Linked DNA regions of Homo sapiens: regions 1, 2, 3, 4 and 5 are each linked to region 6. Evidence: promoter capture Hi-C in 16 types of primary human blood cells and fetal thymus (Javierre and others, 2016). All regions are on one chromosome and are shown on one strand. The core of a region is centred on a gene start or on the middle of the fragment in contact, and the rest is flanking DNA. Distances in the headings are between cores, read along the strand shown. Region 1 holds the start of SIRPB1 (signal regulatory protein beta 1). Region 2 overlaps SIRPD (signal regulatory protein delta). Region 3 overlaps SIRPB2 (signal regulatory protein beta 2). Region 4 holds the start of LOC105372499 (a long non-coding RNA gene). Region 5 overlaps NSFL1C (NSFL1 cofactor). Region 6 holds the start of SIRPA (signal regulatory protein alpha).

Evidence for each region. The method cuts DNA at HindIII sites, captures the fragments that hold promoters and counts their contacts. A CHiCAGO score of 5 or more calls a contact.
Region 1: a contact is called between the fragment with the promoter of SIRPB1 here and the fragment with the promoter of SIRPA in region 6, in 5 of 17 cell types (neutrophils, monocytes, M0 macrophages and 2 more). The highest score is 17.1, in neutrophils.
Region 2: a contact is called between a fragment that was not itself captured here and the fragment with the promoter of SIRPA in region 6, in 2 of 17 cell types (monocytes and neutrophils). The highest score is 6.8, in monocytes.
Region 3: a fragment that was not itself captured here is called in contact with the fragment with the promoter of SIRPA in region 6 in 1 of 17 cell types (monocytes); the score reaches 7.3 in monocytes.
Region 4: a fragment that was not itself captured here is called in contact with the fragment with the promoter of SIRPA in region 6 in 1 of 17 cell types (monocytes); the score reaches 5.2 in monocytes.
Region 5: a contact is called between a fragment that was not itself captured here and the fragment with the promoter of SIRPA in region 6, in 1 of 17 cell types (neutrophils). The highest score is 5.2, in neutrophils.

What each region holds. Positions count from the first base shown.
Region 1 is chr20:1,618,496-1,622,790 of GRCh38, forward strand. It overlaps SIRPB1 (signal regulatory protein beta 1), which reads right to left and starts at 1,514. Exons shown (of 6, transcript NM_006065.5): 1 at 1,374-1,514. The coding sequence starts at 1,449. The HindIII fragment of the contact is 7,240 bases long and covers 1-4,295 here.
Region 2 is chr20:1,532,100-1,537,017 of GRCh38, forward strand. SIRPD (signal regulatory protein delta) reads right to left here. Exons shown (of 4, transcript NM_178460.3): 4 at 2,152-2,342. The coding sequence ends at 2,326. The region is part of intron 2 of LOC105372499 (a long non-coding RNA gene); the gene reads left to right. Among named protein-coding and RNA genes, the nearest start is that of SIRPD, 23 kb to the right of the region's middle. The HindIII fragment of the contact is 7,989 bases long and covers 1-4,918 here.
Region 3 is chr20:1,482,484-1,486,947 of GRCh38, forward strand. The region is part of intron 1 of SIRPB2 (signal regulatory protein beta 2); the gene reads right to left. Among named protein-coding and RNA genes, the nearest start is that of SIRPB2, 6.7 kb to the right of the region's middle. The HindIII fragment of the contact is 1,559 bases long and covers 1,884-3,442 here.
Region 4 is chr20:1,511,858-1,516,509 of GRCh38, forward strand. LOC105372499 (a long non-coding RNA gene) reads left to right here and starts at 704. Exons shown (of 4, transcript XR_001754464.2): 1 at 704-938; 2 at 1,494-1,652. LOC105372498 (a long non-coding RNA gene) reads right to left here. Exons shown (of 3, transcript XR_937198.3): 2 at 4,225-4,305; 3 at 3,730-3,810. The HindIII fragment of the contact is 9,029 bases long and covers 1-4,652 here.
Region 5 is chr20:1,461,167-1,466,067 of GRCh38, forward strand. It overlaps NSFL1C (NSFL1 cofactor), which reads right to left. Exons shown (of 9, transcript NM_016143.5): 2 at 3,163-3,260. Among named protein-coding and RNA genes, the nearest start is that of NSFL1C, 3.2 kb to the right of the region's middle. The HindIII fragment of the contact is 1,220 bases long and covers 678-1,897 here.
Region 6 is chr20:1,894,100-1,898,558 of GRCh38, forward strand. It overlaps SIRPA (signal regulatory protein alpha), which reads left to right and starts at 1,308. Exons shown (of 8, transcript NM_001040023.2): 1 at 1,308-1,427. The coding sequence starts at 1,349. LOC102724545 (a long non-coding RNA gene) reads right to left here and starts at 151. Exons shown (of 4, transcript NR_186374.1): 1 at 20-151. RefSeq lists silencers at 272-531, 542-661 and an enhancer at 1,953-2,468. The HindIII fragment of the contact is 10,599 bases long and covers 1-4,459 here.

The DNA.
Region 1 (4,295 bases), core at 264-2,763, 280 kb before region 6:
CTAAAACAGGCAAAATGCTAATAACTGTGTCTACATGGTAGGAAGAGCTCAATTGTTAAACTCTTACTGCTGTCATTTGGGTACAGTGTATGTGTGAGAAAAATAATTTGAAAAGTGAGACCCCTGCCCTCTAGGGCCTGTGAGGTGACATCACAGCAGGGCCCAGTGGGGAATTGAGAGGCTGCTGTGCCCAGCCCTGTGGTTCTGGGGTCAGCTCCATGGCCTGAGAAGGGATCAGGACAGGTAACTTGTCTGGGAGCTGTGAGCAGGGTTCTCCCAGGCTGCACCAGGAAAGGCCCTCCAATCCTGCCTGTCTTGGGAAGGGGAAAGAAATTATCCATGGGAAATTTAAGAGAACCAAAGGAGGTTGTAGTACCTGTTATGGGCTGAATGTGTCCCACAAAATGCATGTGTTGAAGCTCTAATCCCCAGCACCTCTGAACGTTACAGTTTGGGAGACAGGGTCTTTAAGAAGTAATTTAGTTAAATGAGGTCATTGGGGTGGGCCTTAATACAACAAGACTGATATTCTCATAAGAAGAGGAGATGAGGACACAGACACACACAGAGGAAGATCATGTGTTTAAGACACAGAGAGAAAATGGCCCTGTATAAGCCAAGGAGAGAGACTTCAGTAGAAACTAACCCTGCTGACACCTTGATCTTGGACTTCAGCCTCCTTAACTGCAAGGAAGTAAATATCTGTAGTTTCAGCCACCCAGCCTGCAGTTCTTTGTTATGGAAGCCCTAGGAAAGGAATATAGGACCCAGTAAGCAGCAAATGTGGAACTTCTTAAAGAGGAAGAGGCCACAGAGAAATGGGTGGTAAGAATCAGGTCACAGGGGAGGGAGGAGCATGGGGGAACAGAGGACAAAGTGAGGAGCACCCTTAGGGAGGATGGTGGCTGAACACTCCCAGGATACACCACACCACTGCCCTACTCAAGTGAGCACTATTACAGACTTCACATCCTCAGTTTGGTGAAGAGAGAGGGCTGGGCCTAGAGCCACATAACCCTGTTAGGGTGTCTCTGAGCTTACTCTGTGGACTTGGGCATGTCACTTGGCCCTAGGGCCTCAGGACTGGTGAGGATTTAGATAATGATTCTTCTCTGCTTTTTCAATTGAAATATTATCAAAATGTAAGTAATTGTTGTTGTGGTGGTTGAATCGTCCTGTGGTTCAATGCCTCTGGTAGCCAGCTGCAGATCCACAGAGAAAGTGCTCAGCTCCCTGATTTTCTGCTCTCAGTCAAAGCCTAATCCTTGGCCTTTCTTGGCAGCACTTGTCATTGTCCGGAATCCCTGAAAGTCCAGGGACAGGCCATGGCTCAGTGGGCAGGAAAAAAGATTTTAACCGAAGGCAGTGCTCACCTGTGAGTCTCCCCAGCAGTAGCGTCATCAGCAGGAAAGGACTAGGAAGGTGGGGCCAGGAGGCTGGCACGGGCATTCTGGAGACCTTAGGAGCCTGCTCTGTCCAAACGTCTGTGCTGGGAAGATCGCAGACTCTGCTCTGAGGAGAGAAGACAAGCCCTGCCTCCCTTAGTTCAAGAGGAAGTGGCTGCGATGGAGTGAAGCAGTAACCTGCTTCTGGATTGTGAAACAGAAATCAGGAACAGCAAGCAGCTACAATGCAAGCAGTTATGCATGCCCCATTTCAGGAGAATCAGACAGGCTTAGCAGAAATAATGCTTCCTTCCCACCTGAGGTCTTAACTCCTTCCATGACTCCTAACCCCATCTTTATGTCTTCTTGGTGATTTGCCATTTGGTGCTCTTAAGCCAGGAAGGACCTGTGGTTATGAAATGTTTCCTAAACTTTCCATCTCAAGACCTCAGGATGTGGTTGGCTTGTGGTCTCATTCTACAACAGCCTCAACCAAGTGCTACTCAGTTGGGGCAGGATGAGGGATCACTGGACCTGCTCAGTGTTGGAGAGGAACAGGTCTGCTCTTGAAATGGTTCCCTATTCCGAACTTTTATAAATATAAATGGCAAAACTTAGCCCAAATTCAGTCTCATGTGGCCGTTAGCACTTTCATATGCCTGCACCCAGCAGAAGGAATTATTTCCTGACTTCTTCCAGGAGAGGAAGTGGGCTTAGGGTAATAAGGATCTGCTTTGTGAGGTGAGGTGGGGATTATGGGTTATGGAAAGGGGATATGTTTATTATGGGGGAGAATATGGAGGGCAGATTCCTGGAGCAGTCACATCGATTTCAATACTCTTTGCTCTGCACATAGAACACCTATTCCATTCATCACTGTCTTCAGATGGGAACTGAGGAGGGAGGGAGAATAAATACCCTAAGAAGATGTGCTAAGGAGTTGGGGAAGTTACTGGGCCTGCCTAGGTTCAGTTTTGCCTTCTAACCTTGGGATAATAAGTCTCACTGCCATGTTTTAGTGAACATCAAAAGAGATAATGACTATACATCCCTGAGATTCAGTAGGTTATTATTGATACTCATGGTGCCAGGTGAAGAGAGGGAACTCAAATATTGCTTTTAAATGGATTTCTACTGCATGCTGAGTTTCCCACCAGTGGCCTTCTCCCATGTTCCCCGGACTTCTGGAACCCAGCTTTTATGGTGTACTTGGTCTACCTCTGACACTCTGAGATCAATTTCTCCCTCTGGATCCTCTTCACCCTGCTTTTTGTCAATCTGTAGATGAATTCCTTTTCTTACAATCTCCAGCTGTGTGACTTTCAACAAGACACTTGACTTCTCTAAGCCTTAACTTAATTACATGTAAATGGAAGTTATAACATGCACCTTGTAGTGATATGGTAAGAGTAATATAAGCCATACAGAAGGTTTGATTCATATTTAATTATAACCAAAAAATTGTGGCTATAATTACATTTGTGTACAGGGTGAGTTCACTGCTTCCCTGACATACTTGTGCTTTAGAAAAATTTCCTTGGTAGGAGAAATGGTTTCTCCTCCATCATCTGTGACTAAGAAAGACCTGTCTGGAAACCTCTCTTTCCCATGCTGGGCTTGCAATCCTTCACCTATCATGAGTAATTGTCAAATGAAATTGTAAAAGTCATCACATTTCCATGCAAATTTCTTTTTCAATGTGGCAGATGCACAGAGGGTGAAATCATCACCTCCTGCTCCACACTCACAGAAATGAATATAAAAATGATAAAATCATGTTAATCGATGCCAAATTACACTTTAAAACAAGAAACTAGTCTCTATATGACATGAAGGGTAGTAGCTGCTGTGTTTACTGCAGATGTCCTGTGCTCCAGGTACTGTGCCAAGCATTTTGTCAGTTACCTCATTAATTCATCACTCTGGTCCCATGAAATTAGCACTACCATTAACCTTTTTTTATAGGTGAGGAAACTTGAGGCACGCAGGCAATAATACATTTGTTCAACATCACCCAGCTTTTAGAACTAGAACACAGGTTGTCACACTCCATGGCCTTCACTATGACACCTCTCATAAGAAGGGAGAGATATCTCTCAGGAAGGAAGCAGAGAAGAAGCCATAACGTCAATTAGGCGCAGCCTCCACAGCAAGGTTGGGATAGGTGCCATGTTCCATAAAGTGCTGACAGCCCATGATCACTCAGGGCATTATTCCTGTAAAGATTACAGTGAAAGCAGTAATCACTAAAGATTTGGGGAAAAGCGACATCATAATAAATTCAAAAACAATAACTAAAAAACAAAAACAGCAATGAAAATAACATCTTAGAAAATAATACCTCAGAAAATAAAAATATAAAATGTGAAAATATTTTTAACATTAACATATTTAGTAACCTTATAGAGATAATGAAAAGAAAGTAAATCCATAAAACAAAGTCACGTGTGAAACAAGAATAGGTAGGTGTGCAGTAACAACAGGTATCTGAGAAAAGTAATAAAAAGAAGAATTTTGAAAAAATATAATTAGTGCTAAATTGTTTAAAAAACAAATAGGTGGATGTATTAATCTGTTCTTTCTATAATTGTTATAATGAAATACCTGAGACTGAGACTGGGTAATTGATAAAGAGAAGAGGTTTAATTGGCTGATGGTTTCAGAGGCTTTACAGGAAGCATAATGCTGGTATCAGCTTCTGGGAGGTCACAGGAAACTTACAAAAATGGCAAAAGGTGAAGGGGAAGTGAGCATATTTACACGACCAGAGCAGGAGGGAGAGAGAGAGTAGGGAGGTGCCACACATTTTAAAACCACCAGATCTCATGAGAACTCACTCATCATCATGAGAACAGCACCAAGAGGGAAATCTGACCCAAAGACCCAGCCAACTTCCACCAGGTCCTACCT
Region 2 (4,918 bases), core at 1,443-3,942, 360 kb before region 6:
TTTGTGCATAACTTTTTAGTTTCAATTCTTTAAAATTGTATGACATTCTCTTTGTCCCCAAAGACTGCCTACCATTCTCCTTGTTTCTCCATGGCTGTAAGCTAAAATGTGAAAGTCCCCTAAATTATCTTGATGTATGTTTCTATGGTTCTGTTACAGTAAATTATCACACTCATTTTTTTAAAAAAGAATCATAATAATTAATTCACCAATACAAGTACATCTGAACTAACTGTTGGGCTTCCCAGGCTTTCCTTTAATGGGTGCTGTTTAGAGTCTTGCAAGGTTTGTCTTCAGCCATGATTGAATCAGCCAGGACCAAACTCGAGAATACACAGAACTTATAGAAACAAAGGACAAAATTCAAGAAATGTAGGAATTACATATTCTATATCAATAATCTACATGTGATTCTTATAACTTTCTGCCTCAATAAATTTATCATTCATATCTTATGGGAATCTATGGTTCCATGCTTTTAAGATTATGTTTTTAAGTTTAATTGGTTGTAATATCCTGAGTATTAATGATGTATAGTAATATAATAATTATTATACAGCAGGCACTCTTCTAAGTGTTTTCCATTTATAAGCCCATTCACATTTATAATTCTTATAACAAATCTGTGAAGTGGATACTATTGTTATCCCTACCTTAAACACAAGGGAATTGAGGCACAGAGAATTTAACATTTTGAATTAAGAATCTTAATTAAGAATTAAGGTCACATAGGCTGGGCATGGTGGCTCATGCCTGTAATCCCAGCCCTTTGGGAGGCCGAGGTGGGAGGATCACTTGAGGTCAGGAGTTCGAGACCAGGCTGGCCAACGTGGCGTAATCAGGTCTCTACTAAAAAAAATCCAAAAAAATTAGCCGGGCATGATGGTACATGCCTATAATCCCAGCTACTCAAGAGGCTGTGGCACGAGAATCACGTGAACCTGGGAGGCAGAGGTTGCAGTGAGCTGGGATCACGCCACTGCACTCCAGCCTGGGCAACACAGAGAGACCTTGTAAAAAAAAAAAATAGAATTAATGTCACATAGCATGTAAATGGCAGAGCAAGAAGTTGATCCCAGGCCATCTGGCGCTGTAGTCTACTTTTACCCACTGTGCTTTGTGGGCCTTTGGAAGCTGTAAGATTCTAAAGAGTTAGGAGTCTACTGATAGATGGCGCTGGGGTTACATTTCACCCTGTTCCTTCACTGTGACCTCTCACTATCCCCATCTTCTATTCATAATCTTGGCACAAGGGCTAACAAAGGGGGAGCCTTAGGCTAGGCTCCCAGGGATTGTAATTTGTTTTAGAACAATGCGCTGGATTTCTAGGGATCTGTACTCCACCATGCACAAACATCTGGGTGCCTTGTCCAGACTTAATCTTCATGTAGGCTTCCTTTCTGGAATTTCACACAGTAGTAGGTGCCGGCTCTGCTGGTGTGATGCTTCTGATACAGATGGAATAGTTTGTGCTCTTTCTATTTGTGATGTCTGAAACAGTTCTTATCCAGGGGAAGTTGCCTTCTTTTTGACTGTAGATTAATTCCCGGCCTGGTCCAGCTCCTCTGAACCACTGGATGGGCCCTACGGGGATCAGGGAGGTCACAGTGCAGTGTAGAGTGGCCGCTTCTCCAGCTGCGACTGACACGGACTTCTCAGGCTGAATTACCCGCAGCTCCTCCTCACCCGCCACTCCTGGAAGAACACACGTCAGCTCCAAGCTCCAGCTGGGGATGAGGCTGCGGTCCAGGTGCCTGGGTTCAGATTGCATTTGAAGCCCCATTCATTCTTTCTTTCCATATCATGTATTAGCTTTTAGGATGGGCACATTCCTTAACTGGGTATCAAGAGAGACATAGAGACAAGATAGACAGACAGCCCTTGCTAAGGACACAGTCAGGAAGTCAAAAGAGAAGAAATACTTCTAGAAAAGATGTTCAACAACACCAGTAATCCAGTGAAGTGCATAGTTAAACCACACACAAATTGCTAACGTCCATGACAGACTAGCTGGAAAAGTTTTTAAAAAAAATGTACGCAGGTTTCAGCATATGAAAGTTAGAGCACATTTTCAGGCTGCAATAAATAGTAGAGGCAGGTTGGTACCAAGGCAAGCAGAGAGGTCGATGAAACAGAAGAGAGAACCTGGAATTGGACCCAGGTAAATAGACAGATTTATTGTACGATCAAGCTGGCATTTTATGTCAGTGGAAGAAAGCTCTCTTGAAGAAGGCAAATGAAACTCCTAAAAAGTAGCTGTCTCCAGGGAGTCAGAAGAGTATGGGGGCTTTTGTTATTTACTTGTACGTTCCTTCCCTGTTTGGATTATTTTGACAGCAAGCCTGAAATACAATAAAAATAAAATAAAATAAAACATTTCTCCCTCCTGCAAGCTAAGAGCAGACACAATTTTTAGAATATTAGCTTAGCAAACATGAAAAAGATTGCCAATTTTCTGTGTTGCTAAGGTTGTGGTGAGGCAGGCGCTCCCACATACTGCTGGTGGGAATAACAATGGACACGATCTCTCTAGATGGCAATACAGCATCACAGTCATGATCTTATGATCTATGTCCACGTGACAAACCCATATTTAAACAAGTAAAGTGGAGATACTTTAACCAAATCTGTTTTGGTCCCAAATGTTCAAAATACCCCCTGTCCATTGCTGCTGCTTCTGTGCTGGGTGTGGTGAGATAATATATTACTGATATTGAGACACTCACGTTTCATTGGGAAATGGCTTTTGAAACCAAAAAACACTTTTGAAATGCAATTTCCCAATAAAACTCATACCCTTTGATTTAGTAATTCCTCTTTGACGGCCTTATTCAAAAGAAACAATCAGACAAGGGTGAATATGATTTGTAAAGGAATGGTAATCATAGTATTTACAATATAGAAAAGTTTGATGCATGGCCCATGTCCAAGAATAGGAGTGAGTTAGATAAATGATGGTACAACCACAAAATGGAAAACTATGTAGAGATTGAAATGATAGTGTTGATGTATATATTGGGGATGTATTGATGATGTTGCAGACACATATATATTTACATAGAAAAGGGTCCCCAATTTATCATTGAGTAAAAGAACAAATAAACCACCATATTTTGTGTAATCTTATTTTTGTTAAAAGTTCGATGTATCTAGAAGCAGCACAGTGAAGAGGTCAAAGTAAGAGCTAGTGGAGTCCCATTGACCCAGGTTTCAATGCCTCCTCTATTGCTTGATTGCTATAGTTTAAATATTTGTCCCCTCCAAAATTCATGTTGAAATTCAATCCTCAATGTGCAGTATTGAGAGGTAGGGTCTTTAAGAGGTGATTGGGTCATAAGGACTCTGCGTTATTTCACAAATTAGTGGATTAATGGGTTATCATGGGAGGGGAACTGTTGGTTTTATAAGAAGAGAGAGAGAGACCCAAGTATAGTATGCTAGCATGCTCAGTCCCCTCACCATGTGATACCCTGTGCTGCCTCAGGACTCTTTAGAGAGTCCCCACCAGCAAGAAAGCTCTCACCAAATATGGCCCCTTGACCTTGAACATCTCAGCCTTTACAACTATAAGAAATAGGTTCTTTTTCTTTATAAATAATCCAGTTTCATGTATTCTATTCTAAGCAACAGAAAAAGGACTGACATTGGTGTTTTACTTTGCGAAAATAACCTCCCTGAGGCTCTGTTTTCTTATCTATGTAATGTATACAATGTGGAAAGTAAAACTTCCTCTTGCAATTTTGTTGTGATACTGAAACCTGAAAATCTTTGAGAAACACTCAGGACTGTGCTCATAGAAGGACTTCTGTGAAATGGGCTTTCCATTCTTAACTGCAAGTCCAGTAGGCCAGGCTCCAGCCCTGACAACCTGGTGATTCTAGGAAGCGCACACCATTGCTTGGCTTTCAGTTCCTTCTTCTACCAAGCCTGATGGACCTTTCTCAGTTCCCATGACTTCTGTGAGTTCTAAGTGAAGACATAGACTTGCCAAAGACACAGAGTGAGAGTTGCAATGGCCGGATGCAGCAGGACTATTTTCGTGGGCTCATATTTGCACTTATTAAGCCCTAAAAGGCTGTAACAACCAGAGCTCACATAGGTGGTTCTGTGTGCTACACATTACTCCAAAAACTTAACTATATTAATTAACTAGTTTGATTCTCACCACAACTGTATTGGAAAGGCATTATTATTTATCCCGATTTCACAGACAAGAAAACAGAGGCACAGAGAAGTTGAGTAACTTATCCATAGTCAAACAGCCTACAAATGATGAAACTTGCATTTGAACCCCGGCCTGTCGTTTTTTTTTTTTTTTTTAATGCCTGTGCTTTTAACCACTTTATTAGTTGGACTCTAAATTGAGATGTTAACACCACTGGGAGAAGAATGGTTGCCTCTCCTGACTGTGCAGATCATCTTTGGAGAGAAGAGAGTAGACAGGCAGGAGAAACACCCGCATCAAGAACGTAATCCTAGGTTTCTGAGATTCTGGGAGACTTACTAGTCTAAAAAGGACCATTTAGCAATTTTTTCTAATAGTTCTACATTGCATGTGTAGTACTTGTTGTTATCTATCTACCTATCTATCTATCTAATCTATCTATTAATCACCTATGCATCCATGTGTACTCATCTTAATGACAGCATCCCTGTCTCCCTCCTGGGGACCAAGGGGTCAAATGCTGCTCCTCTACTTCTTCTCTCAGGATGGCATCAGGTCCTGCAGGTCAGGCCTAGGGGGTCGTGGAACCTTCACAGGACATCAGGGGTGTGGGAAGTGAGAGGGACTGGGCACCCCTGTCATGGGGAAACGCCTGGATGGGAGAGAAAGCAACCCCTCCAAGCAAGAAGAATTCTGGAAGGATTTGTTTTGGAGACACTAGTTATAAAACAAACTATTTAGGGAAGTGTCTTA
Region 3 (4,464 bases), core at 1,413-3,912, 410 kb before region 6:
GTGTCTGGCTCACTCCTTCCTTCCTTCCCTCCTTCCTTCCTTTCTTTCTTCCTTTCTTCCTTCCTTCCTTCCTTCCTCTCTCTCTTTCTCCTTCCCTCCCTCCCTCCCTCCCTTCCTTCTTTCCTTCTTTTTGGAGTGCAATGGCACTATCTCGGCTCACTGCAACCTCCGCCTCCCAGGTTCAAGCAGTTCTCCCACCTCAGCCTCCTGAGTACAGCTTACTTCACTTAACATAATAATCTCCAGTTCCATCCGTGTTGCTGTGAATGACTACATGATTTCATTATTTTTTTTTCACGGTTGAATAGTATTCCATTGTGGGTGTGCTTGGGGACACTATATATATGTATTTTTTTTATCAATTCATCCATTGATTGACGCTTAGATTGATTCCATACATTTGCAATTGTGAATATTGCTGCAATAAACGTAGAAATGCATGCACTCCTTTGATATATTGATTTCTTTTCCTGTAGATAAATACCTGTTCTAGGATTGCTGGATCATATGGCAGTTCTATTTTTAGATTTTTGAGAAATCTCCATACTGTTTTCCATAGTGGCTGTACTAATTTACATTCCCACCAATAGTGTATAAGAGTTCCCTTTTCTCCTCATCCTCATCATTTTTTTTTTTTTTTTGAGAGGGAGTCTTGCTCTGTCACCCAGGCTCGAGTGCAGTGGCACCATCTCAGCTCACTGCAACCTCCGCCTCCTGGGGTCAAGTGATTCTCCTGCCTCAGGCTCCTGAGTAGCTGGGATTACAGGCACATGACACTACACTTGGCTAATGTTTGTATTTTTAGTAGGGACAGAATTTCACCATGTTGGTCAGGCTGGTCTCGAACCCCTGACCTCAGGTGATCTGCCCACCTCAGCCTCCCATAGTGCTGGGATTACAGGCACGAGCCACAGCACCTGGCCTTTTTTTGGGTCTTTTTAACAATAGCCATTCTAACTGGGATAAGACGATATCTCATTATGGTTTTGATTTGCATTTCCCTGATGAGTGATGTTGAGCATATTTTTTCATATACCTCTAGGCCATTTGTATGTCTTCTTTGGGAAATGTTTATTCATTCCTTTCCTTTGCTCATTTTTAATTAGATTATTTATTTGTTTGTTTGCTTTTTTAACTGTTGAATTGTTTGAGTTCCTTGTATATTCCAGATATTAGTCCCTTGTCAAATGGGTACTTTGTGAATATTATCTCTCATTCAGGAGGTTGTCTCTTCACTCTTTTGATTATTTTTCTGCAGTGCAGAAGCTTTTTAGTTTAATATAGTCCCATTTGTCTTTTTTTTGCCTTTGTTGCCTGTCTTTCGAAGTCTTAGCCACAAAACCTTTGCCTAGAGCAATGTCTTGGAGTGTTTTCTGATTTCTTTGTATTGTTTTTCAGAATTATCTTGTATCTTACTGATCTTCCTTAGTATCGATATTTTGTGTTCTTTTTCTGGGATTTTGTAAATTTCTTCTTGATTGGGATGTGTATTGGTATAATAGACCAAGGGCATAGAATACATAGACCAATGGTATAATAGACCAATGGCACAGAATAGAAAACACAGAAATAAATCCATGTATTTACAGCCAATTGATTTTTGGCAAAGGTATCAAGAATACACATTCAATAAATGGTGCTGGAAAAACTGGATATCCATATGCAGAAGAATAAAGGTAGACTGCTATTTCTCACCATATACCAAAATCAACTAAAGATGAATTAAAGATCTAACTGTAGGACCTAAAACTATAAAAACTACTAGGAGAAAACAGGGAAGGGACTCCAGGACACTGGTATAGGTAAAGATTTTATGACTAAGACCTCAAAAGGGTCAGGCAACTAAGACAAAAATAGACAAATGGGACTATATTAAACTAAAAAGCTTCTTCATAACAAAAGCAACTATCAACACAGTGAAGAGACAAACTCTTGAATGAGAGAAAATATTTGCAAAGTACTCACCTGACAGGGGACTAATCTAATATCCAAAATATACAGGAAACTCAAACAACTCAACAGTTAAAAAAAATCTCATTAAAAAGTGGGCAAAGGACATGAATCAACATCTCTCAAAAGAAGACATACAAATGGCCAACAGGCACATGAAAAAATGCTCAACATTACTAATCATCGGGGAAATGCAAATCAAAACCACAATGAGATATCATCTTACCCCAGTTGGAACGACTGTTAAAAAGGCAACAATAAAAAAAAAAAACAAAATAAATAAACAAACCACCACAAATATATGCTGGTAAGGTTGCAAAGAAAAGGAAACTTTATACATGGTTGGTGGGAATGTAAATTAGTACAGCCACTATGAAAAACAGTATGGAGACTTCTCAACAAACTAAAAATAGAAATGCCATATCACCCAGCAATACCACTACTGGATGGCCAGTATGGAATACTATTTGGCTATAAAAACAAATGAAATTCTGTCATTCGTAGCAACATGAATGAAGATGGAGTTCATTATGTTAAGTGAAATAAGCCAGGCACAGAAAGACAAACATCACATGTTTTCACTCATACGTGGAAGCTAAAAAAATTGATCTCATGAAAGCAGAGGGTAGAATGATACCAGACGTGGGGAAAAGTGAGTGTAGGGAGAGGGGCATGAGAGAGATTTGTTAATGGGTACAAACATACAGTTAGATAGAAGGAATAAGATCCTGCCATTTGATATCAGAGTATGGTAACTGTAGTTAACAACAATGTATTGTAGATTTCAAAATAGCTTGAAGAGAGGACTTAAAATGTTCCTAACACAGATAAATGAAAAATACATGAGGTGATGGATATCCTAAATACTTTGACTCATTTATTACACATCCTATGCATGGAACAAAGTATTACATGAACCCCATAAATATGTACAAATGTTATGTATCGATTAAAAAAGAAAAATTGGAAAATATTTTGAACTGAAGGAAAATGAAAACATAATATAAAAATTTGCGGGATTCTGTTAAAGCAAGGGGAAGTTTGTAGTATTAAATGCCTATATTTGGAAAGAAGAAAGGACTCAAATAAATTACCCACTTTCCACCTTAAGAAACTAGAAAAAAAGGCCAATAAACTAAACTCAAAGTAGTGAAAGAAAGGAAATCATCAAGCTGGAAATGAAACTTAATACAGTAGAACACACACACACACACACACACCACACACACACACACACACAGAAAAAATCAATGAGAAGAAGAAAATCTTTGAGAAGATCACTAAAACTGATAAATCTCTAGTCAGATTGAACAGAGGGGACACACACAGAAAGAACCTAAATTATTAAAATAAGGAATAAGATTGGTGATACTACTACAGATTTTACTCTTATTAATAGAATAATAAAAGAATATTATGGAAAACTTCAAGTCATACATATTTGACAAATTAGGTAACATGAACAAATTCCTTGAAAAAGATACACTGCCAAAGCTTTCTCAAGAAGAAAAAGACAACCTGGTTAGCCCTATTATCTATTAAAAAGTTCAATCTGTTATTAAAAATCTTCCCAGAAATAAAGGTCCAATCCAAGAAAGTTTCATTTGTGAATTTTCCATATCTTTTTCTTTTCTTTTCTTTTCTTTTTTTTTTTTTTGAGACAGGGCCTCACTCTGTCACCCAGGCTGGAATATGGTGGCGTGATCTCAGCTCACTCCAACCTCTGCCTCCCAGGTTCAAGCGATTCTCCTGCCTCAGCCTCCTGAGTAGCTGAGATTACAGGCATGCACCACCATGCCCGGCTAATTTTTATATTTTTGGTAGAGGCAGGGTTTCGCCATGTTAGCCAGGCTGGTCTTGAACTCCTGGCCTCAAGTGATTCGCCTGCCTCAGCCTCCAAAACTGCTGGGATTGCAGGCATGAGTCACCATGCCCAGCCAAATTTTCCATATCTTTAAGAAAGAGATAATACCAATTTTATACAAATACTTTTAGAAAATTGAAAAAAGGAGCATACTTTTCTAATTATTCTATGAGTCCCAGTGTTATCTTGAAACCGAAGCCTTTTCCTTTCGAGAAAGGAAAATCAATATCTCTCATGAACATAGATAAAAAATTTTACACAAAATTTTAGTAAACCGAATTCAGCAATCAGCAATATTTAGAAAGTATAATACATTATAATCAAATTGAGCTTATCCCTGGAATATAAAGTTGGTTTAACATTCAAAAATCAATCAATGTAATTTACCATATTACTAAACTAACACACACACACACGCATATACATGCACTCATATAATCATCTCAACAGAATGCAGAAAAAGCAGTTTTCAAACTTGAACATGCATTCCTAATAATAACTCTCAGCAAACTGGGAAGACAAGGAAGGTTTTTCAAGTTGATAAGGGGCACCTGTGAAAACCCTACAACAACTCTATCAAGCTTAGTGGTGCAAAAATCAATGTTTTCCCTGCAGATCAGGAACTAGACAAAGATGCCTGTTTTTACTAT
Region 4 (4,652 bases), core at 1,892-4,391, 380 kb before region 6:
TCCCCATTATTTGTGCACTGTTTTTATTTTCTTCAGAGCACTCATCACATTTGAAATTCTTTCTTCCTTCCTCCCTCCCTCCCTCCCCTGTATCACTCCCACCTTTCTTTCCTTTCTATCTGTCCTCATCAGACTGTACCCTCACCACAAGGGTGAGGACCACTTTTACCAATGCTTACTAATGTTTGCTCAGTGCCCACACAGTGCTTGAAATATAGTGTGCGCTCAGGAATATGTGTGGAATAAACAAAGGCATAGCCTTCTTTGAAATGAACAAATGTTCATCTGGAAACTCTGGACTGGGCTTCCTTAGGATATGGGTGGTTTCCTTAAAAGGATAGGCAATCTTTATGTTCAAGTTGTGACTTTTCTGGCAGCTTCATTTTTCCTCTGGCTTCAAGGTATGCAACACCTGGGATATCCTCTATGTCCTTCTTGATGTATGATTTGGGGACATCCTCTATGTCCTTTTTGAAGTATGATTGGGGGAATGAGGAACTAGCTAAAGTTTTTGAGAAAATGTTACATGTATATATCACACACACACACACGTTTTTGAGACAGGGTCTTGCTCTGTCCCTCAGGCTGGAGTGCAATGGCGCCATCACAGCTCACTGTAGACTCTTCCTCTTGGGCTCAAGTGATTCTCACATTTCAGCCTCCTGAGTACTTAACAGGTATGTGTTATCACACCCAGCTAATTAAAAAAAATTTTTTTTTGTAGAGACCAAGTCTCATTACGTTGCCAAGGCAATATATACCCAGGTCTTGAATTCTTGTTCTCAAGTGGTCTTCCTGCCTTGCACCCCCAAAGTATTAGGGTAACATGTGTGAGTCACTGGAACCCCAAGAAAATGTTTTAAGAGGCCATTTTGATGTAAAGGATGGATGCGAGGCTCCAGAGCAAGACCTGGAAGGAGGCTGTTGGAGTGACCTAGGTAAGTATTGACAAGGGTCTGGGTGACCATGCAGATGAACAGGAGAGGACAGGATTAATGAGACTTGGAAACTTAGGGCACCTAGGGCACAAAATGTAGAGACAAGATGTATTAGTCCATTCTTATGCTGCTAATAAAGACAACCCGAGACTGTAATTTATAAGGAAAGAGGTTTAATTGACTTACAGTTCAGCATGGCTGGGAAGGCCTCAGGAAACTTACAGTCAAGGCAGAAGAGAAAGCAAACATGTCCTTCTTCACATGACAGCAGCAAGGAGAAGTGCAGAGTGAAGGTGGGGGAAACCCCTTATAAAATCATCAGGTCTCGTGAGAACTCACTCACTATCATGAAAATAGCATGAAGGTAACTACCACCATGATTCAATTCAATCACTTCCCACCAGGTCCCTCCCATGATACATGGGGATTATGGCAACTACAATTCAAGATGAGATTTGGGTGGGGATACAGCCAAACCATATCACAAGGTGTTATACATGCTGACACTGCGCTTGCTCAGGCCTCAGAATGAGTGTCTTACTTTTTGTTTCCTAGGAACTTTGCCTCATCCTAGTCCTGGCTCTGCTTCAAGGGGGAGGTAAATTATAATTCTTGTTTCATGATACCCTCATCATTGAAGAAGGCCAAGACATCCTCAAGGTCCTCAACATTGGAGCCCAGGAATGGGAATATTGAAGCTGAAGCACCTCTATTGTGAGTAGAAAATTTTGAAAAGGAGATGCATATCTGAGGGAGAATATCTCTGTTTCTGTGACTATAAAGGTTCAAAGTCACAGTAAAACTACATAATAAAAATAGAGCAGGATGTTTATCTCCTCTGGGCATACTTACCCTTTTACAAAAAGCCTTTTCTGTAAAAGGCTTTTCTGGACTACGTCATCTTCCAAAGTCTTCACAGGGCCATTTTGGTGCTTATAATGAACCCTCGATCTACTCCAGGGACACATTTCAAACCTGGGAAAGGGCACACATGTGTTCTTCCCTTTCCCTCACCACCCATAGGCATCAGGTTGGCTTTACTGTAGAACCGTTGGCCTGACAGGCCAGGAAGCAATAGATTGAGGATGGGTGAAGATCACCCATCTGTGTCTAGAATGCTGGGCAATGTGGCTCCTTGGAAAGCAGTGACAAGAGTTGGGTTTGAATCTGGATTTCTTGGTTCTACCACTTGTTATCTAAGTGACATTGGGCAGGTCCCCTCATCTGCAAAATGGAGCATGGTGCCCACCTTGTAAGACTGGTATGAGGATGAAATGAGATAAAACCACACATGAAGTCCCAGGCCCATGGTGGCACCCAGTAACTGTTTTTCTTCCTTATATGGAACTGTAGAATGTCACAATAGGAAGGGAACTTGGGGTTCTCTAGATAATGTCCCTCCATTTATTTTTTTCCTTTGAATCTTAAGTACACAGAATTGTACCTATCATAATTCATGTTGCATGATACTATAATTATTGACAATGCATGACCCTTTTTATTAATTTGTTTACCTACCCCTTCATCTATATAGCTGCCCTTTGGTCATTTGTTCACCCATCTGTCTACCCATCCATCCATCCGTCCATCTGTCCATCCATTCATCCATCCATCCATCTATCTTCCCTCACTCCCTCTCTCCCTTCCAATCAACCATGCATCTATCTATTTACCTGCATACCTATATCAATTTTATATTGTTAATCTGTCCATTTAAAAAAAATCTTAATATAAACATTTGTGAAGCCACCATCCATCATGAAAGCTAGAACCTTCACGATAATTTCCACCTATCTTTATGTACCCCAAATTCTCATCCTTCTGCCCTCCTACATCCAAGGTCACTGCTATTTTTAATCTTGTGTTCATTGTTCCTTTTAAAAAATGGGTTTCATTGTATTTCTATGTATTCCTAAAAACTAATGTTAGCTGTTTTCAGCTTTATTAAAAGACCATCATTTTTCATGAAATCTCTGGGACTTACTTACCCCCATCAATATTGTATTACTAAAATTTATCCATGTTACTGTGTGCGGCTGTAGTTAATTAATTTTGCTTTCTATAGAATATCCCATTCTGTGAGTGTACTAAGTTTATCACACATTGTACTGCAGATGGGCATTTGGATTGTTCTCAGGTTTTGCTAATTTTAAACAATGTCTCCATGTACATATTTGTACATATCTCCTGGTGCACATGTGCAAGTTTCTTTTGAGTGTAACCTGAGAGTGGAAGTGCCAGGTTATAGGGTATGTGAGTGTTTAACACAACAAAATTTTCCAATCTGTTTCCCAAAACAGCTGTGTCCATTTATGTGCCCACTAGCAATGCAAAAAAGATCCAGTGGCTTCTTTACTTTTGCTATTTGAACAGGGACAAAATGACATCTCAGTGTGGTTTTGCCGTGGCTTTTCCTGATTACTAATGAGGTTGGCCATTTCTTCATATGTTTATTGGCCATAAGTGTTTCATTTAACTCAGTTTTAATGATGGGGCTGTAGAGGTTTCATGGCAGAGCTTGGGTTTCATGGCAGAGCAATGGGCTTTCCTTGATGAGCCAGGAAGGAGCCATCAGAAATGCAGGCATCTATTTTCCTCAGGGTTGGAGCCTATCCTGCCTCTGCTGGGTTTCCTGGTCAGTATCATGGACTCTGAGGTCAGACTTGCCACAGAAAATTCATTCCTGGGTAAGGCATGAGAATCTCCCTCTCACTGTTGACCTTTCCAGTCTAGGTGCTCCCTTCCTCTGGTGGCTGCAGGAGACAGGGAGGGATGGCCAGTGCTGTTCAGGTCTCAGAAGGCTGATGAGGCAAGAGAAGCTGAGGGAGCAGCTACAGACATCATGGCAGGTCCTCCTCTAAGTCCAGTCCTCCTAAATAAGACAGGAGGGACTGAGGGTCCTATGTCACTGTGGAGGACTGCCTTTGCGGGGTCTATGACCTGTAGAGGAAGCAGGGGCTGAGGCACAGCCCATGATTTTCTCACACCTCTCCTTAGAGTCTACCTCAAGGGTGCTGTCTTCATACCAGCTCTCTCTGTTTCTTCCTCCTTAAGTGCCCCCTCTCCTGCCCTGACCAGGGAACCTGCCTCTTTGTACATCCTCAGGCTGAATGAGAGACAGAGGAAGGTCAAGGGGATAGCGGTGCAACTCTCGGGGACCCTATGGATCAACACCCATTCAAGGTACAGGAGAAATGGGAGGGCTCCACAGCCTTCTTCTCACAGTGCCCCTGTCAGCTGGAGTCCCACCCTTGGGAGCCTAATCCCATCTAGGGTCCCCCCTTACCTGGAAGAAAGGCTCCTCCTAAGGACACAGATGGCAGAAAGTTCCAGCAAAGGAGCAGGAAGGAGTTGCACACAGGGGTACCTGGTGACAGAACAATGTCAGGATGAGGCTAGATCCTGTTTCCACTAGACCCCCAAGCAGGCTCAGCCCCACCCCTGACTCAGGTCCCAAGACTATACCCTGGTCTTGGGGAGAGTCACCTCACCTATATAAGCCTCAGTTTCCTTCATCTGTAAAGTGGGGATTATAACACGCATTTCAGAATGTTTTTGTATCAAATGGGAGCACCCAAAGTACCTAATAGGTGCTCAGTAATTGTTAAATCTGAATGGCTTTTGGAGGATGGGTGGGAACTGGGGAAAGATATTTCAGATTAGCTTAGTTATTCAAAGGAGTATCTGGTAAAATGAGTGGGTGGTCAGGATTCA
Region 5 (4,901 bases), core at 38-2,537, 430 kb before region 6:
CCGTCCCACTTCCAGGAATTTACAATTTACTTGGGGAGAAAAATTAAGTTAAATATCAGGAAAAGAGTTCAGGGCAATGTGGGAGAGATGCCACCCAGTAGTACATGGATATAGTCAAAGAACTGAAGGAGTGATAGTTGTGACTGGAGTTCTGTGGAACAGAATTATGGCGTGCAGCCTGGTCACAGGGTTAGCAATAACACGCTCAGCAGAGTGGGGATGGAGGTAAACATGGAAGGATGCATGGGATTTGTATAGGCAGAAAGCAAGAGAGCGGGCACACCTGATCAGGTGAGAGGCTCAAACAAAAGCAGGAGAACCAAAAATAAGGAAGAATTAGAGCACCAAAGAAATCAGTTTGGTTGGAACAAAGGATTTAAGAAATGAGGAAAAGGGAATCAGATTAGGAAGGTGGGTCCAAGGGTAAACTCTGGAGGACTTTGAATGTCCACAAGAAGAGGCAGAACATTGTTGGGGCTGAGAGCTGAAATGCTGAATGTAGAAAACAGCCCTACACTTAAATCCTTGTTTTACTAGCTCTGTGATCTTGGAAAGATACCCAACTTCAGTGTCCTCATCTGTAAAATAGGAATAGTACTAACCTCAGTGCTAACAGTACTAACAACAGTACTAACCTCACAGGGTTGCTGTGAGGACTAAAAAGATGTTCATGTAAAAGCTTAACTCAGTGCCTCACTCGTAAATACTCAATAAATGGCAGCTGTTATTACTGAGTTTAAACTGTCTCCTATAGCAATGGTTAACATTTTTATGTCTGTCAGCCCTTTGAGAATCTCATAAAAGCCATGGACTCTCTTGCCACAAAAGATACCTGCTAACATGTACACAAACTTTTGCCTGTAATTTCAGGTATTAATAGAGACCTTCTCACGCTCATTTCATAGATTCCTCCTAGGGTTCTCGGGCTCCATATTAAGAATCCTTATTCTAGAGTTGGGTGTTGCTCTGAGGCAGCAGTGACAACATAAAAGGGTATGTGAGAAGTCAAAAGTGGGGGATGGGAGAGGGCAGCAGCTGGCTAAGTGTCCTGCAACTGCCAGGTCAAAGCAGAGGCAGGCCCCACACAGAATTCCTCTGAGGTGCTAGCACAAGTTTGGTTTTTCCTGAGAATGTAGTCCTAGCATTTGCTTTCCTCCTCAACAAGGACAAACCATGCAACACACTGCGCCCTCCTCCCTCCCTTTTTCTTGTCTTCAGTTCTTTTCTAAGCCTACTACCAAGTCTGAGCCTTAACCAGAGCAATAAAGCAATGCCTCTTGGACCAAATGTGCGTCCAGTCTTTTTACTCACTTCAGTTCTAATGTTAAACTCTATGTCCTTGATTCTTTTACTTTTATGCCTTTTTTTTTTTTGAGACAGAGTCTTGCTCTGTCGCCCAGGCTGGAGTGCAGTGGCGCAATCTCGACTCACTGCAAGCTCCGCCCCCCGGGTTCACGCCATTCTCCTGCCTCAGCCTCCCGGGTAGCTGGGATGACAGGCTCCTGCCACCACACCTGGCTAATTTTTTTTGTATTTTTAGTAGAGACGGGGTTTCACCATGTTAGCCAGGATGGTCTCAATCTCCTGACCTCGTGATCCACCAGTCTCGGCCTCCCAAAGTGCTGGGATTACAGGTGTGAGCCACCGCGCCTGGCCACTTTTATGCCTATTCTTAAATGTACATACTTGTTGGGGAATAGAGTAAACAAAACAGGTCAATTGAGAATGAATGCTAAAAATGATAATACTAAAATTATAATAACAACACATGCTGTGTTCTATTTGCTTTGTAAGTATTAACTCATTCAGTCTCCCATGTGGTAGGCACTATCATTACCATTTGACAGGCGAGGAAAATGAGGAACTGAAACGTTAAGTAACCTGCCCAAGGTCACAAAGCTTTTACTTAAGTGGCAGAGCTGGGATTTGAACCAACGCAGTCAGGCTCCTGGGCCCATGCTAATAAACCACTGCCTTAATAGAACTTTGGGATTACTGGAGAAAAGAAAGGAGTAAACATGTAACTGGCATTAGAGACTAAGTTTAAATCTCTCCCCCTCTATAATTCTGACATGCCAACATCCCAACAACACCCTAAGGTGGCTGTCAAAGACTCATACCCCAGAAAATCAGCCATCTCTACTAGCAGCTGCAAGAACAGCACTTACCCTAACAACATGTCCCAAGCAGTAATACCCAGATGTGCCATCACCAACATCTCATAGGTTAGCACGTGCAAACAGTTACAAGATCACTTTCCTCCTACCTCTTTTCTCTGGATGGGAGTTAGGGAAAGAAGAAAGCAATGAGATCTGGGGTTAGTGCTCCTTCTTCGAAGGGAGGAAATATATTTTAAACCTCAGTTGCCTTTAGAGAGAAACATAATTTACCACTTCATGGCAAAGAAACACTGTTGGTTATATTCTGGGGTTGAATTCAAACCCAAATAAAATTTCCTGGCTAAAACATACACTAGAGAGTAGAAGCAATAAGGCGAAAGCAGAGAGGGGAGACACCTCTGCTTACACACTCTCTGTAAAGGTTCAGACACCTTTACAGGAAGCACCCCTGCCTGTCTCCTGGAAGACCAGCATTGTCTCACTCTGCAGAGCACAGGAGTAATCTGCTGTGGGTGCTGTGGGAGGCAGCGACAGGGGATGCAAATGGGATTGCAAAGGTTAACACTGTTTTACCTAGTAAGACAAGGTCTCCCTAATCAACTTGGCAAAGGGTGGGTTACACAGGTTTATTTTGTACAAGACTTCTTAATAAGGTAACGGGCATCCTAAAATATCAAAACAGCTTTCCTAAGTCATTTCGCCTAAACTTTCACATCTATAGCACCCTTGAAAGGAAGTTTTTTGGCTTTTACTTAAAAACTTTAGAGTTGCAGTGGTCATTCCTCATACTACATAAGTAAAAGTCTTAAAAGTAGGTTTGTGGTTTCCCCCAGGATTGAACCATAAACCACACCCAGTTAAAAGTCATGCATCTCTGTATAGGAAATGACTGAGGCCTGCTGGGAAGTACTACCCATTGACTCAGTCTAACCTTCTCATTCAGACCTGGTCCACACACCCAGGCCTGAACGCTCTGGTCAGAAAATAGCTCCTCTTCACTGCTGGAAACACTCATGTAGCGATAATTGAAGCTGGCCCTTACCTGGGGGCTGTGCCTCTGGACACTGAACTGGGGGTTGCCTGCGAAATGGTCACAATGTCTTCATCCCCTCCGTCCTCATAAAAGCTCGCTAGCGCGATCTGAAACAGAGAGGTAGTACCTTGGGACCCTTAAACAGGCCTTCACCTAACGCACATCTCCTTTGAGCACAAAGGAATACAGACATGGCCAACACTTACAAGGTAGCTTGCATCCATGGGCCAAAGAAAATTAGACCAGAAGGTTAACAGCTCAGCTGTTAGTCTTCGTGTCAACTGAAACAAATTCCACCCACTAAGGTGAAAAGAAGGCAGTAAGAATGGCTGGGGTGGAAGACACTCTTTATTCTCATTTTATGAAGAAACGTGATCTAGTAAAAGTAGCACACATTTAGTGAGCATTTACATGCCAGGTTGTTCTGAGCATTCTACATACGTTAATTTGTTTAATCCTCAAGAACTCTATGCTATTAGTACTCTTATCATCTCATTTTATAGTTGATACAGAAGCACTGAGGATTAAAAAAAAATTTGTTCAAGTTTACACAACTGGTAAAGAGAGGAGCCAGGTTCCATCCCTGCTAGTGTGCTTAGGCCCTCACTCTTAAGCGCTTCCAGTACAGCCCGGAGTCAGGAACTGTGGAGTCAGTCCAGGTTGCTACTTTTCCTTTCTTTCAAGTTGTTTCCTAATCTGTGAAATGGGGGTACCTGTCTCACCAACCTGCACACTGGATGAGATAATCCATTAAGATTTATGCATACTCGCATCTTAGGTTTACACATACAGAAGGAATATGGGAATCCTTTGGTCATTTGTGACATCTCTGTCACCAACTCAACGGACAGGCATTCACTAATCACTTGCTTTGCACAAACACAAGAAAGCATTGAGGTCACAGAGATGAAATAGACATGGCCTCTGTCCTCAGGGTCACCAACTTCACAGGAGACAGTGAGCTGTCAAGGGATAAAAGTAATCTGCTGGGAGGCAGTGTGCTGTCTCAGGCCATGTAGTGAACTGGCATTCTCAGGGAGCCTACATTCAAGTCCTGTTCCTGCCAGGCAAGTCACATGCATGATCCTCAGTTTCCCCACTACAATGTGAGGGGAACGAGACAGAAGATCTGTTGGTCACAACACTGTGTGCTTTTAGGTCTTTCAGGTAGAAACTTTTTATTTCTGCCCAGCATAGGGGCTTCCCATTGTGTCTAGGTGTGATCTAGGTGTGATGCTTTACCGAATTCTTATGTTTGGGGAGTAATTTACGTTTGGCAGCAGACTCAGTTCAAATTCCAACCCCGCTACTTACTGGCTATGTGACCCTGAGCAAATTCTTTGCCCTCTGTGCTTCCAATTCCTCATCCATAAAATGGGTCTAGTCTTTACCTCATAGTGTTGCTAGGATCCAACGAATCATATTATGTAAAGTGCTTGGCACATGGTGGTTTAAAGCTTGGGCTCTGTCTGCTTGCAATCAGACAGAACTGGGTTCCACTTCTACCTCTTCTGCCTGGTAGCTAGTGAGGCCTTGAGCAAGTTACTTAACCTCTTTAATCTCAGCTGCAAAATGCGAAGGTTAAATGACAAAAGACATGTAAAGCAGTCAGAACAGCGCTTGGCTCATGGTAGGTACTCAATAAATATTAGTCATCACCGTCATCATCTACCTAAGACGAAGCTGGCCAAGAATATTTATGCAATTCTTTCTACAGTTAATTACCGAATGCTTATTATGTGCCAGGC
Region 6 (4,459 bases), core at 58-2,557:
TCCCCCTGCGTTCACTTACTTCCTTCTTTTCCTTCACCTCGGCCCGGCTCTGAAAGGATCGGGCCCCTCCGGCCCGCACCCACCCCCAAGAGGGGCCTTCAGCTTTGGGGCTCAGAGGCACGACCTCCTGGGGAGGGTTAAAAGGCAGACGCCCCCCCGCCCCCCGCGCCCCCGCGCCCCGACTCCTTCGCCGCCTCCAGCCTCTCGCCAGTGGGAAGCGGGGAGCAGCCGCGCGGCCGGAGTCCGGAGGCGAGGGGAGGTCGGCCGCAACTTCCCCGGTCCACCTTAAGAGGACGATGTAGCCAGCTCGCAGCGCTGACCTTAGAAAAACAAGTTTGCGCAAAGTGGAGCGGGGACCCGGCCTCTGGGCAGCCCCGGCGGCGCTTCCAGTGCCTTCCAGCCCTCGCGGGCGGCGCAGGTCCGGGCCCGGCAGGGACGGGGAGGGGCAGAGCGGGACCGGTCGGGGCTGGGGACCAGCCGCGCGGGCTTCTGAACGGGCACGCTGTCGGAGCCGGAGGCTCGTCTAGTCCCGAGCCCCAGCGGGCCGCGGCGGCTCGCGGGGCCGCCTTCCCGGGACAGCAGCCGGGGCCCGGGCGCCGGCGCGGGGGAGGACGCTGCCCTCCCCGGCCGGGCGCGCAGCTCGCAGCCCTCGCTCCCTCCCCCGGGGCGCGCAGGCGGGCGCTCGCTCGCAGAGAAGGTGCCGGCGGGGCCGGAGCCCCGAAGCCTCCCCGGGCGGCGGGAAGACGGGAGGAGGGGAAAGGGAAGGAGGGAGGGGGTCGGGCTGCCGGGAGGGCGGGGGCAGCGGCCGGGACTGCGGGCCGGGAGCGAGCCCAGCCGCCCGCGCCGTGTGGAGCCCGGGCGGGGCAGGTGGGCAGCGGCGGGGGCGGCTCCGCGCGGCCGGGCTCGGCCGTGCTGCCCCTCGCCCCTGCTCGCGCGGTCCTCTCTCCCGCGCGGTCTGTCGGTCTGCGCGCCGCCTCGCTCCTCGCTCCTCGCTCTCCCCCTCTTTCTCCCCCTCTCGCCTCTCCGTGTCTCTGGCTCTCTGCCTGGCTCCCTTGGGTCTGTTTCTCTCTCCTGCCGCCTCTCTCTGGCCGCCCCTGGCTTTATTTCTCGCGCGCTTGGGGTCTCTCCCAGTCTCCGTCTCTCCATTTCTCCTGGGGGGCGGGGAGGGGGGGTCTCCAAAAACCGCGGCGGCGGCGGCGGCCGCTCCAGGCGCCCGTTCCGGAGTCGGGGGGAGGCCCAGCCGGGAGGGGGGAAGGGGGGGAGCCTTAGTCATTTCCCCGCTCCAGCCTGCTCCCGCCCGAGCGCGCACTCACGGCCGCTCTCCCTCCTCGCTCCGCAGCCGCGGCCCATGGAGCCCGCCGGCCCGGCCCCCGGCCGCCTCGGGCCGCTGCTCTGCCTGCTGCTCGCCGCGTCCTGCGCCTGGTCAGGTAAGCACCCCCCCGCTCCCCACCGCTGCACTCCCCAAACTGCGGGCTCAGGCCTCTCAGACTGGCACTGGGACCCCTTCGGCTAATGCCGAGCAGTAATAGGGGGAGAGACGCCTGTAACCAGGGTTATAGATGCAGAAACTGAGGCCCAGAGAGGGCCAGCGACATGCCCAAGGTCACACAGCCAAGGGTAGAACCCAAGTCTCTTCTATGAGAGTTTGTCTCTGTGGACTCTGACTCTGTGCACTGTGCTGGGCACTGAGACAAAAGAGCCGAGTTGCTTCACTCAGCCCCTGCCCGGTCCAATGGGGAAGGCTGACTGACAGTGGCTTTCAGAGCAGGGCCGTCCGGCTTCCCCAGAATCTGTCCCCATGGACATACGACTTTCCACATGTTTGACTTCAGGGTGTGAGGGGAGGAGGTGAGGGCAGAGGTCCTCCCGATGCTGCCTGGAATGGAACAGAGACAAGCTGTTGCAATTAGGGAAGAGTGAGCCCTCCCTCTGGTGCGCAGAGTAAACCGGTGTTAGTGTGTGCCTGGGAGAGAGGGAGCCGGGAGGCCGCGGTAACCCCAGAGCGAGCTGCTGCGAGCAACAGATCCTTATGTAAAAACACGGTGGATTGTCCCTGTGGTTGCCAAAGCCTCTCCCTGGTGGTCTTGCTCCTTGAGGCGCTCCCAGCTCCCCCTTCCTCCTGCCTTCCCCGAGCTTCCAGGCAGCTCCCTGCAGTTCAGGTGCTCCGCGGGGATGTTACCTGTGGCTCTGACCATGTCTTTCTGTTGGCCTACATCAAACACCTGGCTGTCGCCGGCAGGCGGGCTCTGAAGGCTACTGTGCATGTTCACCAAAGGGTGAGGTCACCATTCAGGAGTCTTGCTTCTTAAATGGGTTTTGCAAAACCATGGGTCTCCTGGGAGGGCACCGGGTGGGGGGCGGGGGGAGCAGAGAAATGGCATTAAGGGAGTTGGGAGGGAGAGAAAAATGGGGATCTTGTTTTTTGTCGTCTTGAAACTGTGTTGTAGGCAGTGGGGTCTCTCTGTACCTCCCACCCTTGAGGAGGGAGGTAAAGATGAGCTCAGTGTCCAACACCCCCTTTTGCGTTTGACTAGAGATGGTAACCATCTGATAGCAGGGAGAAAGGGAGAACTAGCAAAGAGTGGGTGGAAGGAGAAGTATGGGGGGTAGACAGCTGCTTCTCTCTGCCCTGCAGTTTCCCCTGAAACCCAGGAATTCACATAGGCATCCCCCCACCCCACCCCACCCTCCACCCCCAGTTCTTTTCAGTTATAGTTGCGTCCTTGCTGGGCTGAAGGGAGCACTGATACAGTTCACGTCTCTCCAGTGAGTGGCATCTCCTATCTGCTCCTTCCTGCCTGAGCTGGCCATTTGTACCCTGCAAAAGTCCGAGTTCCTGCCCTGCCATCCTTCCTGGCCTGGAAATGCACAAGTGTCACTCACAAGTGCTTAATTTTCCTGAAGCAGGGAATTGGGCCCGAGTTAATTTCTAAATGTCTATTCCAGACCCTTCTCCGACCAGGAGGCTGTGGTTCAGTCCCTGGCAAACGAGCAGTGACGCTGATTAGCAAGTGCTCCGATGGGCAGCCTGCCTTTCCTGGGGCACCGGCTGGGAACACCAACACCTTTCTTGTGAGCACATCTCCCCCTTTTGCCTATAAAAACAGTCTATAAGATGGTAAAGATTGGGCCATAAAACTTCCGTTCCAATCCATTCAGCATCAATAGCCTGAAAAAGTGGGAGCAGCAGAGGGGCCAAGATTAGCTTTGAAATAAATAAATCTTAGGAGGTAAGAATGAATTTCTTGGTCGAGGGTGGTGGGGAAGGGATGAGGTGCGACCATCATAGCTCAAGTCTCCCATTATCCTTCAGTATCTGTTCTTCGGGGTCCTGGTCACACCATGGGCCTGGGCAGGGAAGTCACCTGGTTTGGCTGAAGGATGGGGCCTCAGGCCCCTCCCCCTATTGCTCCAGACATGGAATTTACAACAAAGAAGTAGAGAGACAGGATATGAGGGTAGGAAGGTACAAGGAGGCAGTTGTCCAATTTTCTAAGAAAATGGATTTGTTCGAGTGAGAAACTAAAATGTCAGGTTTAGGAAGGCGGCTTTGGATTGAATGACTACTAGTGTCTCAGGCAGAACTGTCAGCCTGGGAGGTGTCACATGATTCCTGTGTCTTCACATGATCACTGTTTTGGGGGGGTGGGGCCAATCATGTGAATTATCCTGGGTGGGGGAGGCAAGAGAAGAAGTTTCTAAAGATTGCTTTTAGCACAAATGCTGCCAAAGGGAAATTCTAAAAAGATCCCAGTGAAGTCACCAACCTATGTTTTTGGACCCAATGTGAGGCCTGTTTCCTAAAACAACTGCACTGAGGGAGATTCTGAGGCTGGGAGAAGGGCAAGGGACTGAGGCCTGGGGACACCTGGCACCTGATTTTGTGTCAGCAGGGCCTGACGCTGAACCCGCAGGATGCCTGCTTGGCCCCAGGTAGGCCTTGAGACCTCTGAGTCACCCCCCAGGCCGACCTCAGATAAACTCCCATTCATTTCTTCTCTCTGGCCTGGAGGAGGCCAAGCCAAGTTGCAGTTCAGGCTCTGGGGAGCAGCGGGGCCCCCCAGTGAACCTCTCACCGTTTGGTAGAGGGTGGCACTCTGGGGGCTCCTCTGTACTTTCCTAAATGGTAAAGTTAATCTCACTTCCTCTTTCGTAAGAAGAGAAAACGGGGCGGGAGTGCTTTGGCTCAACACATCAGGCTGTTGGAAGTTCCTTTAAAGCCATAGTTTTCTCTGAGTACTTTCTGGCCTTTACCAACCCCTCGGAAACTCACGGTAATTCACGTCTGTACTTGCAGTCATGCAGCACCTATGCAGTGCTGGTGTGAACCATGTGTTGAGAGAAGGGAGGAAAACCAACATTCATTAGATAGTTAATGGCGTTCCAGGCCGGATGCTGCTCCTGCGTCGTCTCACCCGCAAGACATGGATTGGCTCTTCTCCCCATTCTGCAGATGCAG